2 separate regions of the Homo sapiens genome follow, and region 2 is linked to region 1. Evidence: promoter capture Hi-C in human tissues and cell types (Jung and others, 2019). All regions are on one chromosome and are shown on one strand. The core of a region is centred on a gene start or on the middle of the fragment in contact, and the rest is flanking DNA. Distances in the headings are between cores, read along the strand shown.

What was found. Contacts are between HindIII fragments. The study calls those that stand out against the background at their distance.
Region 2: a fragment that was not itself captured here is called in contact with the fragment with the promoter of ARHGEF38 in region 1 in 1 of the 25 tissues and cell types used here (H1 embryonic stem cells).

What each region holds. Positions count from the first base shown.
Region 1 is chr4:105,548,447-105,556,332 of GRCh38, reverse strand. It overlaps ARHGEF38 (Rho guanine nucleotide exchange factor 38), which reads right to left and starts at 3,713. Exons shown (of 14, transcript NM_001242729.2): 1 at 3,372-3,713. The coding sequence starts at 3,567. It overlaps LOC105377352 (a long non-coding RNA gene), which reads left to right and starts at 4,049. Exons shown (of 5, transcript NR_188418.1): 1 at 4,049-4,140. RefSeq lists enhancers at 1-4, 556-1,105. The HindIII fragment of the contact is 7,071 bases long and covers 1,173-7,886 here.
Region 2 is chr4:105,599,959-105,607,844 of GRCh38, reverse strand. The region is part of intron 2 of ARHGEF38 (Rho guanine nucleotide exchange factor 38); the gene reads right to left. Among named protein-coding and RNA genes, the nearest start is that of ARHGEF38-IT1, 42 kb to the right of the region's middle. The HindIII fragment of the contact is 5,874 bases long and covers 2,107-7,886 here.

The DNA of each region.
Region 1 (7,886 bases), core at 2,464-4,963:
TGGAGTAAAGGTCAGACATGTTTTCTTGATGATTTTGTAGTTGTAATTCCTGGCACATATTCTGTTTTTGCTGTTCATTGTAACCCTCAAGACACAGCATCTAAAACATTCAATAAATGTCAATTTACCAAATGTGTATGATTTTACAATTTGTATTCTTTCCAATGTATCAAGGGCCTTGAGAAAAATTAATTTCAAAGAACAAGGTATAACATATTCAATAAATGCTAGTCAACTGAATTAATCTGTTCAAGGAGTAAGGGAGCCTAAGGGTGGCCTTTCTATTATTATACAACTCCAGGCTTAGTAGGAATGACTATGTTGATGTGATCACAATCTTCTGCAAAGGTTTTAGGATGTCCTGGTTAGAGCCATGTTCTATCGTTTTAATTCAGCCAGTGTACCATTTTTAAAATTGTTATTACAACTTAAGTTTCATGCTACTAAAGTGATGTGAGAAATTGAATTGAACAGATAGACTAGGTATCATGAGTTAAAAGACAAGCTCAAGAGCACCAAAGAAAAATCTTACATTTTACGGAACCCAGAGAACTTGCTTCCCCAGAGAGTTAGAGCAGTGAATTTTACTCAGGTAATATAGCATTGAAGGACAACCAATTAAATAACTAATTAAATAACCAGCTAAATAATTTGAGGAATGTGGTGTTGCCAGAAATTCCAGTATTTGAAAGCACTCTTTGACCTCACAAGAGCTTTAGGCCATCTATCTGAGGGCTCTAACCAGTCCAGGTGTTTATTCAGTGCCTCCCAGGGACCACCAGTTCCAAGAAAGGGAGAGGAAAATCTCTCGGCATTTGAATAATAAAGAGCTTCTTAAGGTGATTTAGGACTCATCTGCATAATAATGGGTATCGTACAGGCCAGAGAACAAACGCACAGAACTGATTGCTTTGAACATTAATGAGAAAATGCCTTCCCTTGTCGCCTTCCCTGTTCTAGTCGAACCATGCTAAAAGCTCTATTAGGCGTTCGATAATCAGACTTGGATTCTTTTAAGGGTTACGTTTTTAAGATGTTACTTCTCAGGAGGCCAGCCTATCTTTATGGCTTATGTGCTCCTCTATACTTCTTGGTGATTTTTCTCAAGCACAGACTAGAAGCATGTATTAACTGCTGAGTTTTGCCTTCCACCTTCAAAGAATCCAACAGAGCACAGGAAAGCCACAAATCAAATGAAGTGCGTAAGAAGTCTGAGGTCTTCTGCAAAGTAACCAACCCATGTCTGCTCTCTTGTGTGGTCATAGACTTATTTTTTTAGGAAAATTTAGTAAGCAAAAATTTGTGAATAGCAAAAATTATTTTCTGTTTTTATTTTGCTAATGGAGACTCTGATAGATGCTGAATTAGTGAAACTCAGACAGAAAAAACATGTCATTAGGGATAAAGCAATGGGCTTTTCCTGAATTTCTAGATGTGGTCTCTTTATCAAAGGACAAAAAAGAATTGAAAAAGAGAAATAAGGTATACAAACTTCGATTAATATTGGGCAAGTTCTGTTTTATCATTATGGTACCCATTATTCCTAAAATTTATCAGCCAGTATACTAGATGTTTTGTAATTATCTAATTTCAATCTCCCAACAACACTATGTGGCAAGTATCATTAGTCCCACTTTCACAGACAGGAAAATTGAGGCTCAGATATTTCAAGTAATTTGCTCAAGTTCTAATTGGTAGTAAGTTGAAGAACCAGGTTTAGAAACTAAATGTGTATGATTTTAAATTCTCATGGTACATATTCATCATGGAATACTACACAGCCAGAAGAAAGAACAAAATCATGTCCTTTACAGCAACATGGATACAACCGGAGGCCATTATCCTAAGCAAATTAATGCTGGAACAGCAAACCAAATACTGCATGTTCTCACTTATGAGTGAGAGCTAAACATTAGACATACATGGACATAAAGGTGGCAACAATAGATACTGGAGACTACTGGAGTGGCGAGAAACGGACAGAGGCAAGGGCTGAAAAACCACCTACTGGGTACTATGCTCAGTACCCAGGTGATGAGATCATTTGTACCCCAAATCGCAGCATCACACAAAATACGCAAGTAACAAACACACATATATACCCCCTGAATCTAAAATAAAAGTTGAAATTTTAAGACATCCATTCTTTCCAATGTATCTATTGCTTGGAGAAAAATTAATTTCAAAGATTAAACAATGCTCTCCCTCATTTTAAAAAAAAAGTATTTGAGGATAAGATTGATGCTGTGCTTTAGTGCTGAACTACTGGTAATTTTTTTTTTATTTTTACACATTAACTTATAGTAATAATTTTTAGATTTAATTTAAATGCATTTAATTTAACTTATTTAACTTAATTAATTTGCATAACTAAATCTAAGCTCATATTTGTGGAAAGAGATTTGTTAAATATAAGCATGTCCTATCGGTCTTTCTGACCTCATCACAGTTTTTAAATCCAAAACGACAGCTCACAGTGGGATGATGAGAGTTCAGACACACCTTGTGCTAAAAGCAGGAGAGGCAAGTTCTGGAGGACCACATAACAAGTACCGAAGAAAAGACTTAAAATGCTGCCCAATATCAACATCAAAATGAAATTTTACTAGAACAAATGACCTTCAGGAAACAGGAGAGAAAGAAAGGATAGATAGGACAGGATATAGATTAAGGCCCTGAAACAAATGATGTGCTATCATAACTGTGCCAAATTATCTTTGTACCATCACAAAATAAACTGAAGTTATTTCCTCAAATGTCATTCAAAATAAGCATGCTAAACATTTCTTACCATATTTGAGTATTATTCAATTTACTCAAAGGAAATAATCACCTAAGTGAATTTCAGCAAATCTTTTTATACCGTCTCTCTGACTATAACATTCCTTCTTTGTCACAGACACGATTATAGTTTCATGCCCCTATTTAAGATAACCACAATCATAGTTCAGTACCATTACCTAGATATATCTCATGGTGTAATATCACATATCTACCCATTGAGATAAACAATCTTTTGTAGGTTTCTAACTCATTTGCTTTCCAGTGTTTCCCACTTCTTAAGTTGGGTAGAGAAGGGAGAAGAAAAGAGGAAGTTAGAAGAAAAATGATTACCCTCACCAGGAAAAAAAAAAGAAAAACACAGCAATATTAAGAGTAATTCGGAATTGACTCTTTAACATTGAATCACGTAATAAATTTTTTTCCCTATAATTTATAGGTCACATTTACTTTCATCTTCTTATTTTGTGGGAAGGAGAGGTGGTATTCAATTTTCCCCTCTGCCTTGTGTGTTTTCTTTGCAATTGGAAACGTAGCAGAAATGGAGCTGGGAGTGCAGTAACTGGGACAATTGATTTCTTTTTGGTTACCTTGTAATTTCTGGTTGTATTCGGTCCTGTCAGATTGGCTCCTCCTCAAGGTGCCAGAGTGGTCCCCAGAAACACTGCTCTCAACCACAGTGTCAGTCTTCCTTCTCTCCAGCATATAGAGTCTAGACCTCAAGAAGGCCAGATTCTTTTTCTTGGTGACCATGTTTTCTTTCCCAGTGGCTTCTTTGGGCTCCATATTAGGCAAAGACAAGCTTTGGAGGCTTGCAGGCAATGGCTGATTGCTAAGGTGCCTCAGGGTGAGGGTTAAAGCTACTAGAGTGACGAGTTTATCTGCTCCCTTCTAACTAAACCGCTTCACTCCAGGGTTACCTGGCTGTGACTGCCACCACCTCTACGAAGTCCCAGAGCTCCACCCACATGAGGTCATTCTTTTTTAAACCTAGAATCCAACAGGGGAAGCTGCCACCTGTTACCTGAGAGACTTGCAGCACAGAGCTAGGCAAAGCAGGGACTGTGCTGTCACATGCTACTGAAGCAAACAAAAATCCTATTGTATGGGGTGAGGGGTGGGGAAAAAGGAAAATGAACAAGGTGAGGCAGTGAGGAAGGAAGTACACGTTAGCATAACCCGCCGTTTATGGGTTTAATGTGTGCCCATGGGTGTGTGCAGGTGCACTCAGGGCACTGTGTTGTGGTCTGCTGCCTGGAGGCAGACCAGGGCTTGTGCGTGGCTTTTGGCTAGAGTTACTCACAGGTGACCCACGGAGTCAGTGCAGGGGCTATGAGAATTTGCATTTGCATCAAAACGGTGAGTACAGAATCATTTTCAGTGATTACTGTGCACACTCAAAGTTATGCTTCTGCCTTTAAGCGTTGAACATTCAGCAATTATTTACTGAAAACATACTTGCCAAACCCTGATCCGCATTCCTGAGGAAATAAGGATTCACATGTGAGAGTCATCTGGCAGCAGGCAGAAGAAGTGGAGGGGAATGCCCATAGAAGCCTAGAGCCTTTTCAGATTTCTCACTCTCCACAGGCTGCCCTTGCCTGAAATTAATCCTTCCATGGTCCCACCCTGTCCTTTTATGTTTTGGTCCTTAGGAAAATAAGCCCCGTGTCAGGGTTCAGTTTCTATAAGATCTTTTCCCTGTCCCTTTCATAGACGGAGTGCCAGAAAAGGGCATCCCACCTTGGGAATTTAAGGAGAGGAAAAATGTTTGAAACTGAAGGGGCACTACACTTCTAGAAAGTAGAAAGGATAGGGCAGGGATTAAAAGAGAGAAAGGCAGACAGTGATAGGCCTTTCATTAATTTTTTTGAAGTTGTTTTTCCTCATATTTCCTGAGATCTCTCAAGGGAAAAATTCTAAGAAGCTCTGGGAATGTGCTGAGTGCTCTGTATGCCTTCGTTAAAGAAAAGAAAGACCCTAAGGAGGAAAATGGATTCTCTCCTATTGTAAAGGGACCACCAAAATCCAGCTCTGTGCTGACCAGTCTGAATCTTGCATAACTTCTGTTGGAAAAGATTTATAAATGAGGAGAAAGATGTAAAAGTCATTTCCCAGCTCAGGATGTGTGTGCTCAATATAGTTTGCATAATTATCTTAAAAGATAAATGACACATCTTCACCCACTATGGAGACATCTATATATAGCTTGGCGTATTGAATGGCTTTTATTTAATATAATTGATAGTCTTTTTTGAATAAATCCTCCCAAGTACATTTAATAAATACTTTTAAAGGCTTATTTACCTCTAAAATATAAAAGGAATTTTTTGGATTTATGTCAAAATGCCTCAATTGTGTTCGAATATTATATATGTATGAATGTATGTATGCATATACACACTTATTTATATTCACCTGGTAACCACCAGGGATTTATTTAGATACGGTATCACTGAAAAAAAAAGTTCAATTAAAACTACAGGACTTAATGGGTAACATGAGGTTTAGGACAGAGCACTCAGAAACTTTGTCAATGGACCATAAAAATCAGATCAAGACCTAATAAAAATGGTAGCAAGAATTTACACATGATAAATGCTTAAGAAATGCATAAATACTACAGCAAATATAACCCTTTATCTTGAAAAAGACACGGCATTTGCTTGTGGAAATGGGCCTCAGAAAGGTCACAGCTTAAGGGTTGTGAAATGGCAGAAGAAGCATTATTTGAAATCGGGGGAAATTTATTACACCAGATGTGGATGGGTGTGGCTCATAACTCAGGCAGTGAACTGAGGTCACTGGTAAGGTTTGAGGATTGTACCTGTGTGAGTTTTGTGTATTCTTATGTGGCTCAGGTCATCTGGGTAGTTTTCTGCATTCGACTAGTGTTTCAAGTAGACAAAATCACACACAAACAAATGCGAAATTGTGTTATGTTCAAACAATTCCCTAATATGTCAATCTTGTTGGAACAAATTTGTATTTTCAAAACAAGTGTTATAGCAGAACTTATTGTAATAGCTTCATTATACAACCCTGTATTGTTTAACAACAAGGATACATTCTAAGAAAAGCATCATTAGACAATTTTGTCATTGTGTGAACATTATGGAATATATTTTCTTTAAACGTAGCTTCATTATACCATCCTGTATTGTTTAACAACAAGGATACATTCTGAGGAAAGCATTATTAGGCAATTTTGTCATTGTGTGAACATCATGAAATGCATTTACGCACACCTAAATGGTATAGCCTACTACATGTCTAGGCTATATGGTACCGCCTATTGCTCCTGGGCTATAAACCTGTTACTGTACTGAGTACCATAGGCTATTGTAATGCAATGGTAAGTATTTGTATCTCTAAACGTATTTAAACATAGAAAAGTACAGTAAAAGTATGGTATTATAATATTATGAGACCACTATTGTATATGTAGTCCATCTTTGACTGAAACATCATTATACAGCACCTGACTATGTTTTTTATTTTCACCAGTTATTAAGATACATAACAGCTACTATGAGTTCAGTGGTAAATACATATTTTATTTATTCACATTATTTTGAATGTAAAATTTAAGAATGATAGATAAATTCTCTCAGAACAATCTTCTATTCAATCAGGGAATCAGGCAGACACTGTTGGTTGCTTACTTGGTCTTCATTTTTACCGCCTCCTACCCCCATGCTATTCTTTGCCAACAGAACCCTTCTCTTGTTCAAGGCAGCATTAGTCTTAGCCAATCAACGATAATCTTTTTTCCTATTTTTTTTCTATCTCCCTTTCTCTTAGGGTTGGCCATGTAACCCCGGTCCTGGCAAATAGGACCTTTATAATAGTCTGAAAGAATAAGGGGTGGATTATTGATCCTGGGAAAGCTTTTGGTTCTCCAATAAAAGGGGCAGTCTCATCTGGCTTCAACCTTCCCCCTTCTTCTAGACTGATCACAGGGGTAATGCACGGAGCAGTCACAGCCCTCCTGTGTCCATGAGAAAAGACCAAGAGATCCATGGGCTCTGATACCATTGACCTATGGAACCAACATCAGTAGTCATTCACCTTTAGACTTGTTATGAGGGTCAAATAAATCTCCCCTCCCTAAGCTATTGTTAATTGGAGTTCTTGTTGCGAATACAGTTCTAGTGGATTTAACAGATGGTGCTTAATTTACATACAGATTCACAGTTCTCTTGCTTATCTCCTTGACATTTCTTAAGCCAGTGTGTTTAGAATCCCTAGCATAAAACATGACTTAATGACTTAGTTTTGCTAGAAATGAGAACAGCCAGGTCAAAGAGATTTTGAGTGCTTTAACACTGGGGCATCTTTCTAGAGCATCAATGAGACTGGAGAAGCAAGGCCTCTAAGCAAAGGTATAAAAATGCTTTAATACAGAAGGTTGATATTACTTAAATAAATAAAATATTGATATTAAGACATTTAAATGTATTTTGCTTGAATAAGGAACAAACAATTCCCGGTTCATTATTAGGAAAAGCACTGGACAGTGAGTTCAAGACTCAGTTTTAGTCTTGACTGTGATGTAAATCAGCTTCTTGATCTTACGGTTCACATAGTCTCCCTAGGTCCCAATTTCTTCATTTGTAAAATATAAGGGAGAATTCATCATTAGTGCTATTCACTGAATATTTTCAGTTCTCTCTTTAGGCACATGGAGGTATTTCACTTCCCTACACCTTTTTGATTTAGACTTGGCCAAGCAACTTGCCTTGGCCAAAGAAATTGATTGAATGTGAAGGATGTCACTTTTAGCGAATGTTTTAATAACACAGTGGGTGTTTTTGCTATAGCTGTTTTTCTGTCATTCTTGGTACTGGCAAGATTCCAGGCAGTGGCTGCTCCATCAGGATGAGTCCTGGAATGTAGATGACTCAGAACAAAACCCCCAGACACCCCATGATGATTGTATAGTTTGATCATGAAAGAATCCTTTGTTGCTTTAGTCTACTGAGATTTGGGGCTTTTTTTATTACCTAGACTTAGCATAACCTAAACTATTCTTATTAATGTTGGATGTGGATTACTTGATACATAAATCTCTTCACGTCTAGCATTATGTGATCTCAGGATTC
Region 2 (7,886 bases), core at 3,794-6,293, 50 kb before region 1:
AACTCTTGGATCCAGCCTTGCCTAAACAAGAAATCCTTATTCCATAAGCCGACAAACTGTCTTTTTTATTTAAGCTAGTTTGAACTTGATTTCTGTTATCTATGACCCAAAGAAGATTAATACACTTTTAATTGTAGCCAAAATGTTACTTTCTCTAGGAAACATTTCCTGTTCCTTAGTTAGAATTAACCTCTCTTTCTCCCTCACTTCCATGACTCTTGCTTTGTATTACTCCCTGCTTATATGGAAGCCCATTCTATTCTATTTATCAGAAATATTTACTAATTTATCTGTCTCTATGACAAAACTGTGAATTCCTCTAAGAATTGCCTTTATGAGTACTCTACTGTGTCTAACACGGTTCTGGGGATGTGCAGAGTTACTCAGTAAAAGTTTAAAAATTTGAACTGAATTGAATCTGTACAATGCACATGATCTATTTACTCTTGTAGGAGTCAAAAATGAATATTCTTTGTAATCAATTCACTAGGCTCTGAATAATAAGCATGCAAAGATCAAAAGTGGTTTAAAGGGAAAAAATTACCAATCTAGTTGTTCAAAACAATTACATGGATATTTTATAATTTTATCCTTAATTTTATCTGCAAAGGCACACTGGGGTGCTTAGTTTGGCCATTGGTATAACTGGCTAATTTGCTGACAGAAGCCAATCTTCCTCTAGTTTACACCTGCGACATGCCTGTTTATAGGCTTCTGTTTAATGAGCACTGGATGAATCGGCCTGAACCCCATCACAGGGAGGAAAAACCAAACTTTCTTAGGTGTCCTGCAGACCCCCAACCACTAACATCTCTAAAAGTAACACTGTAAAGAAGTCTAGGAACAAACATTGTTTGAAAAAATAAATTAGGCTATTATTATAAAAGTAGTTCATGTCACTGTAGAAAATTAAGGATGAGTAGACAAAAGAAAGTAAAAGAAAGAAAATACAGTCACCTGTAATTCTACCACACAGAAATAGCCACTAATAATGTTTTCAGATATGTTTTTCTAGATTATTTTTCTCTGTGTGTCTGTGTGTACATCCATACAAAAAATTATATACTTCAAATAGTTTAAATTTTTTTTGCCTTAACAACATAACATGAACATCTGTTCATGTCAGTAATTTTCCTCAATTGCACCATTTTTAACATTTTGTGGAAATACTGTAATGTACTTAACCATTCATAAATTTTTGAAATCTAGATAGATCACGCTTTTCATTATTATAATCAGCTCTTAGCTAAAGTCTTATTCACACTCATGATTATCACTGAGCTAAAGTTATTAATTTTTTAAAGGATTTTAAAAAGTATTAACAAATAAACATTGCTTTTTTCTTCTGACAACCAATGGATTTAAAATTGTCAATTGGATATTGCTGTTCTGACCTCAATTTGGAACTATATTTTTGGGCTCTTAATTTGATGGTCAAAATCACACAACTTAAAAATTCCATATATATGTGCATGACATATATATTTAATACAACAATTGTAGAAGAAGGGAGAAAATAAACAGCACTGCTTTCAAGGGTCACGGTGATTGCCACCAACCAAATCATCCTCTGGAAATTGTTTCTAGAAAAGTCTTCAGTGTTTGGATTTGGTGTAGTTTTGCAGTAAATCCAGGTTCAAATAGGGCCCCAATTCTGGGCTCTGAACTTATGTAGTAATTACATTAGAATTAATATAGGGCAAATTCTCCTTGGCCATCATCTGATTTGGTCTAATAGAACCTTGGTGCCCTCTACTCCTTCTGTAGGACAGTTCCACACACAACATTTTGGTGAGGCCTGGATGCATCCTCTAAATTAGATTGATCCATTATTAATGCTGAAGCCATCAAAACCCAATGATATTGAGACTGCAGTAAGGTGGAAGTGGAAGAAAGCTGCCATGGGTTACCAAACATTTGAGAAGTGGAGACTCACTGGGGACATTCTGAGAGGATAAAGTAGGTTTTGTTTTATTTTTTAGTAAGGAAGTTGAGAAGAGGACTGCTTGTGAGATAGAAATTGCAGCAAGTGGAAAAAAAGGATGTTGGCAGAAAGCCCCAGCAACCACTGGGCTAGGATAATTAACTCATTACTATGGCATTTACTGAGACAGTTGGCTTCTAGATTACAAAGCGTTTCAGGGTAAACTAGCCATTATTTCATCAGGCTTCTCAAAAGTGCTGATTTGTATGTGTGAAATTTCCTGCTGTGAAACTGGATTTGAAACTGGCTAATTGAGTCAAACTATGAGTTGAATCAATATCACAGCTATACAGCAAGTCTTTTAACTAATCTTGCAGATAAATGCTTAAGTTACCTGATAACTGCCAGAAAACATTCCAGGCCAGAAGATACTAATGTGGACAGACCTACATTAGCCACAGAGATGTTAGTCCCTTTGCAGAAAGGGGAGTGGGAGTTCTGGAACAGAAATCTCAGCATGTGTGTGAGGAAGGACAGAGGCAACAGTCAAAGCCAGAGAAAGAGGCTGGGTTCAAACTCGAGAAGTCCCTGAGTTAAGAAGTCCAACAGCCCTGGAACTTAAAATCAAAATTAAAATTAAAAAAAAGTCCAACAGAAAATTTGTTTTGACTAGTAATAGAAAAGCAAAGTTATTATATTGGTATCCTTGAGTAAAAGGTAAATAGTTGACTAAAGGTCTCTGCCTTTGTTTCTCTTCTCTGCCTTGACACAGGGACAGGCAGAAAAGAAGTTACTCAGCAGAGGTTTGGGGTGGTCTTGCCTTCCTTTTCCTACTTTGAATTTTATATGAAATGTTCCAAAGACAAACAGTCCTGCTAAAAAATAGGTCTTTTGAGCTGGAGGGCTAGTATATTTTGTAATCTTTTCAGAAATTGTTTAGAAAGCATAGACTAAACACTATGATTTATATTGTTGAAATATAGAGAAAGTAATTTGGAAACTTTTTGGAACAATCAGTGAGATTATAGGAAAAATTTATAATTTTTTAATGTATCCATGTCAGCCAAAAAATTATATTTAAAGGCTTGTGGCTGGGCATGATGAATGGGGTAAACATTTTTTGCTTTGATCACTTGAGTACTCACTGTGTGAGGGTGTGTGTGAATGTGTGTACATGTGTGTTTATTTCTTCTTCCTGTACATACTCAAACTGAGAGCTTATAGCAATACTCATAACTTTTTCAACAAGCATCCATATCCTTTAGGCCCAATATCTGAAAGAAATTACTGATATCAGGGATGACTTAGCATTAACACCCATTTTTTTCCAGACTTAATGACACAATTACAAAGTTCTAATCTTCAATAATACAATAAAAACTAGAACTCACTGAAAATAATTTGAAAAATGAGGAAATGCTTTTGCAAAAGAAAGGAAAAGAAAAATTTCCTAGAGATGATAAATGAAAGGAAAAAAGAAGGCTGAAACAGAAGGCTCAAAAAGATGTGGTGGGCAGATGTGTGACAGTAGACTTGAGTAGTAACACAGGAATTACGGACGAAACTGGTACAACATAGAACAAATATCCATGAAGTCCATCTGTGTTGTAAATTCTGGTGTTTCCAGGATTTAATCACTTGACCACTGTAATTCCCACATTTTTTCCCTTGGGGAATGTCACTTGATCATGACATCTAAGTTAAGCATTACTGTTTAAATTTCCAATGGTTTCCCTTCCCCACACACATGAAGTCAGTTCTTCTGGCATGGGGCTCTTCGTGGCCTTGCCTTTGCACCTCTTTTCTGCTTTGCCTCCTGCCGCATGGCACTCCAGGAGCTGTTTGATTTCATGGCCCATACTATGCTAGTCCATATCATGTTTTCTTCCCCAGGATGTCTCCATGGAATCCCATGAAGATAGTAAACATACCAAAAAGGTTAAAAAACAAACACCTCCTGCCTGAATTTCAGTTGAGGCATCAATTTCTTAGCTATCAGATACCAAAGTGAGCGGGAGATGGTTTGCCATATGCAGAACTTGCAAAGGAAAGTTCAGTGAACTGTTTCAAAGTCACCTCTGTTGAGCTCATACCTGAGAAACCTAAAGGAGCTGTGGCAGTAGGAAAGTGATGGCTATGTTGGGATGAATCTGTACTCCCACAGTTCTTGGGGGTCAGGGATGCTTGAATGCTTCCTATGGACCAGCTGCAGACACTGTGAGGTGTGGAAGCTAGTATAAACATATCTATGACTCTGCCTGCAAGGCTGAATGGCAGAATATGAAGGTACACTCTGGATGCCTCGGGGCTCAGGAAAGAGTTGCAAATCACCAACTGGGACAGATGCAATTGGATCTAGTGGCTTTCAAGAGAGAATCTCCCCAACACCACCATCATGGGAATAGCCTGAAAAAGGCCAGGAAAGTACCTGTAAGAGTGCCACATTATTATATCTAGAAAATCCAAAGAATGTAAAGCTAGTCTATGATGGTACCAGTTCAAGTACACCTTCCCCCTCCCTTACCTCTCCTCACCCATCCTCCCGAGGGTCAGGAGCTGGCTGGTGAGCAGGTGTCAAGGAGGAGCCACATTCCAGCTGTGTGACTTTGGATAAGTTACTTAACCTCTTTGTTCCTTGGTTTCCTCATTAGTCAACTAGGAACACTTAAACCTGCTTCATAAGTTGCTGGGAGGATTATATTAACTAATATAAACAAGTTGTTTAGAATAATGCTTGGCTCCTAATAAGTACTCAATATATTGTAGCTATTATTGTTGTTTTTAGGAAAACTGTGGAATGAATTTTGACCAAACTGCTAGCTGCTAAAGGCAGTTCCCAAACTAGACAAGTGCTTCAGATGTTCATTGATCTGTAAAATGATGGGACTGCCAGAGTCCTTATCTGGAGACAGGGCGGGATCTTTGCACTACTAGGTAGACTGATGCTCCCCACAGCATTAAGCTGCAGTATGAATCCCAAGAACCACAGACAATAAGGATAAGGAAGGGAGCAGGAGTGAGTGCTGATTTTAGGAAGCAGAGCCAGTTCTGGGAACATTTTTAAATTGCTAAAAATTTCTCACTTGTCTCTTTTTTTTGAACAACTACCTTTGTCAAAAATCCAAGGTGCCCAAATCAATGTTAGGTCACCTGAGTTCCAGAAGATTCTCAAAACTCAGCCGAGTTTGGATTTTGCTGGGTATGCCCAGGATGATGGAAACAAGCGTGAGCCCTGGAGTGGGGACTGGTCTTTGGGTGCATCATCTATTAGCTGTACCACTAAATTCCAGACTCTAGACCTTAGGGTCAATGCAGGCTCTCCCCTCTGTCATCCCTAACCCTGATCTTGATAGCTTAACCACACTATCTCCAACATTCAATTAGCCTTTTCTTAGTCACTTTGTAAAACTCTATCAGGCCCCAGTTTCTGCCTCTGAAAAAGCTTCTACACTCATTTTTATTTCCTATTTCCCCAAATCAGCTTACTAATAACTTCAGATTAGTCTTCCTAAAACGTGTTTAATTGGGTTTAAAACACAGTTTAAATTCCTCTGTTTTAAAACATTTGTTTCTTCCCAGTTGCCTACAGAAAAGATCTCAAATTCCTCAGTCTGACAGTTTGCCTGGACAAGACCTATCTCGTCTTACTCCAGTTATTTTTATTTTTATAAGGACCATCTGCTACTATCAAAAGGAATTAACTCATTTTTAAACTTACCCTATGTTAGCTCACCTACTCTTGCTCCTGTGGTTCTCCACTGCTGGGCTGCTCTCCTGACCCTGCCTCCACCTAACCAATGTTTACTCAGTGCAAATCCCATCCCTTCTCTAAGACTTCCTGGATCACTTACCCATCCTGAAGTTGTTCATCCACTCATTTCTTTTTCAATCCATAAGTATTTATTGCTGCTCATGTATAAAGCACTGTATTAGGTGCTGGGGATATAGCAGTGAACAAATGAGACAAAATTCATGATTCATAAAGGAAAAAAGTAAACAAGATAAGTAAGGAAAATATATTGTATTAAATATAGGGTTAAATGTTATAGGGATAAAACAAAAACAGCAAAAGGAAGATACGGAATTTTGGGGAGGCTGCAGCACTGGCAATGCCTTACTTATATCTCCTTGATTCTGAATATTCTTGGACATGTGAAGGGCCTTCTGGTGTAAGCATCTCTGATTTTCTACCTAAAGGCTTTCTCTGACCGCTGATGCCTGCTCTGCCTACACACAGGCAAGGTTAGAAGTGCCAGGAATTAACACCCCCAGGAGCATCCCTTAGCCAATGTCTAACAGGAATTGAGGAGGGTAAATACTCCTCCCATAGGACAATGTGTTCTGTACAGCCTCCCCAAGCTCCCAGTGGGAAATGAGCCCTATTTGGCCACAGAGTTAACCCACTCATTAATGTACCCTATATTGTCTTCTTTCTCTGTCTCATTTCCCTGTTCCCTTACTGCTATTTCAGGGTATCATCTCCCAAATCAATACCATCTAAAATCCTTTTATCAGGCTCTGCTTCTGAGGAATCCAGTCTAAGATAGATTGAGGTGGTGAAGGAAGGATTTACTGAGTAAAGTCTTGACGGACATGAAGTAGCAAGCTATGAAGTTATTTTGGGGAAGAGCATTCAAGGCAAAGAAAACAGCAAGAACAAAGAGCTTGAAACAGCAGTGCTCCTGGTTTGTTCAAGAAAGAGTGAAGAGGTCAGAAGGTAAAAATAGATGACATCAGTGAGAATGAGGGCCAGCCCCTGTAGGACCTTGTAGGTCATCATGAGTATATTAGGTTTTAATCAGAGTGAGAGGGGAAGTCATTGGAGGGTTTTGAGTAGAAGAGTGACATAATTTGACTGATATTTTAAAAGGATCACTCTGGCTGCTTGGTTGAAACAGGGTAGAGGAAGAAAGATGGGTCACAAGACAGTTGTAAAAATCCAGGAGGTTATTGATAGGTTCTTGAACCAGAGTGGAAGTAAGAAAGGAGATGAGACATGGTCTAATTCTGGATAAATTTTGAAGGCAGAACTAAAGAATTTGCTGATCGATCTGATATGGGAATTAAGAGAAAGAAAAAGTTAAGGATGACTCCAGGGATTTTTGCCTGAGCAACTGGAAGGTAGAGCTGCCATTTTCTGAGATGAGATAGAATACAAGGGAGAAAGTTTTAAAGAGGAAATTAGGAACTCAGTTTTGAACATGTTAAATTGGAGATGGCTTGTAGACAATTAAGTAGAGATTTGAGTGGGGAATTGGAGAAACAAAGGAGGACTTCAGGGAAAATGTCTAGGCTGGAGATAAAAATTTGCCAATCACCAGCATGTAGATGGGATTTAAAGCCATGAACTACATCAGATTTGCAACAGAGCTAATGTGGACAAAAGAGAGAAGAGGACCACAGGCGGAGCCCTCAATTACTTTAGTGTTTATAGATGAGGATTAACCAGCATAGGAGACTGAAAAGCAGCAGCCAGAGTGGTAGGGGGAGAACAAAGAGTGTGTAGAGTCCTGGAAGACAGAAGGCACTGTTTTTGTCAAATGCTGCCAACAGGTCAGGGAAGTGAGTGCCTCCTTTTGCTAATGTCTAAAGCAATTAATTGTTTGCATAACTAATGAGCACAACTAATCATGACTGCCTTCTGTCATGATCACTTCTAGCGTTGCCTTGAAATAGATCTTTGATTGTTATTTGTGTTTTATATGTTTATGAGTCATTTTCTTGGCCACATTATAGACTTTACTAGGGCAAGACTGTGACATAAATTTTCTTGATACCCACGCAGAGCTCAGGAGCAGGCACTGCATGCAATAGGCACTTGACAAACATTTAATCTTTTAATTTGCATATTCAACTAAAATATCACATTCTTCATGAAATATAGCTCAGTTAATCTGTCTGGAAGTGATCTGTCCCTTCTCTGAACTCCAATTGCACTTATTGTCTACACTTATCAATTATC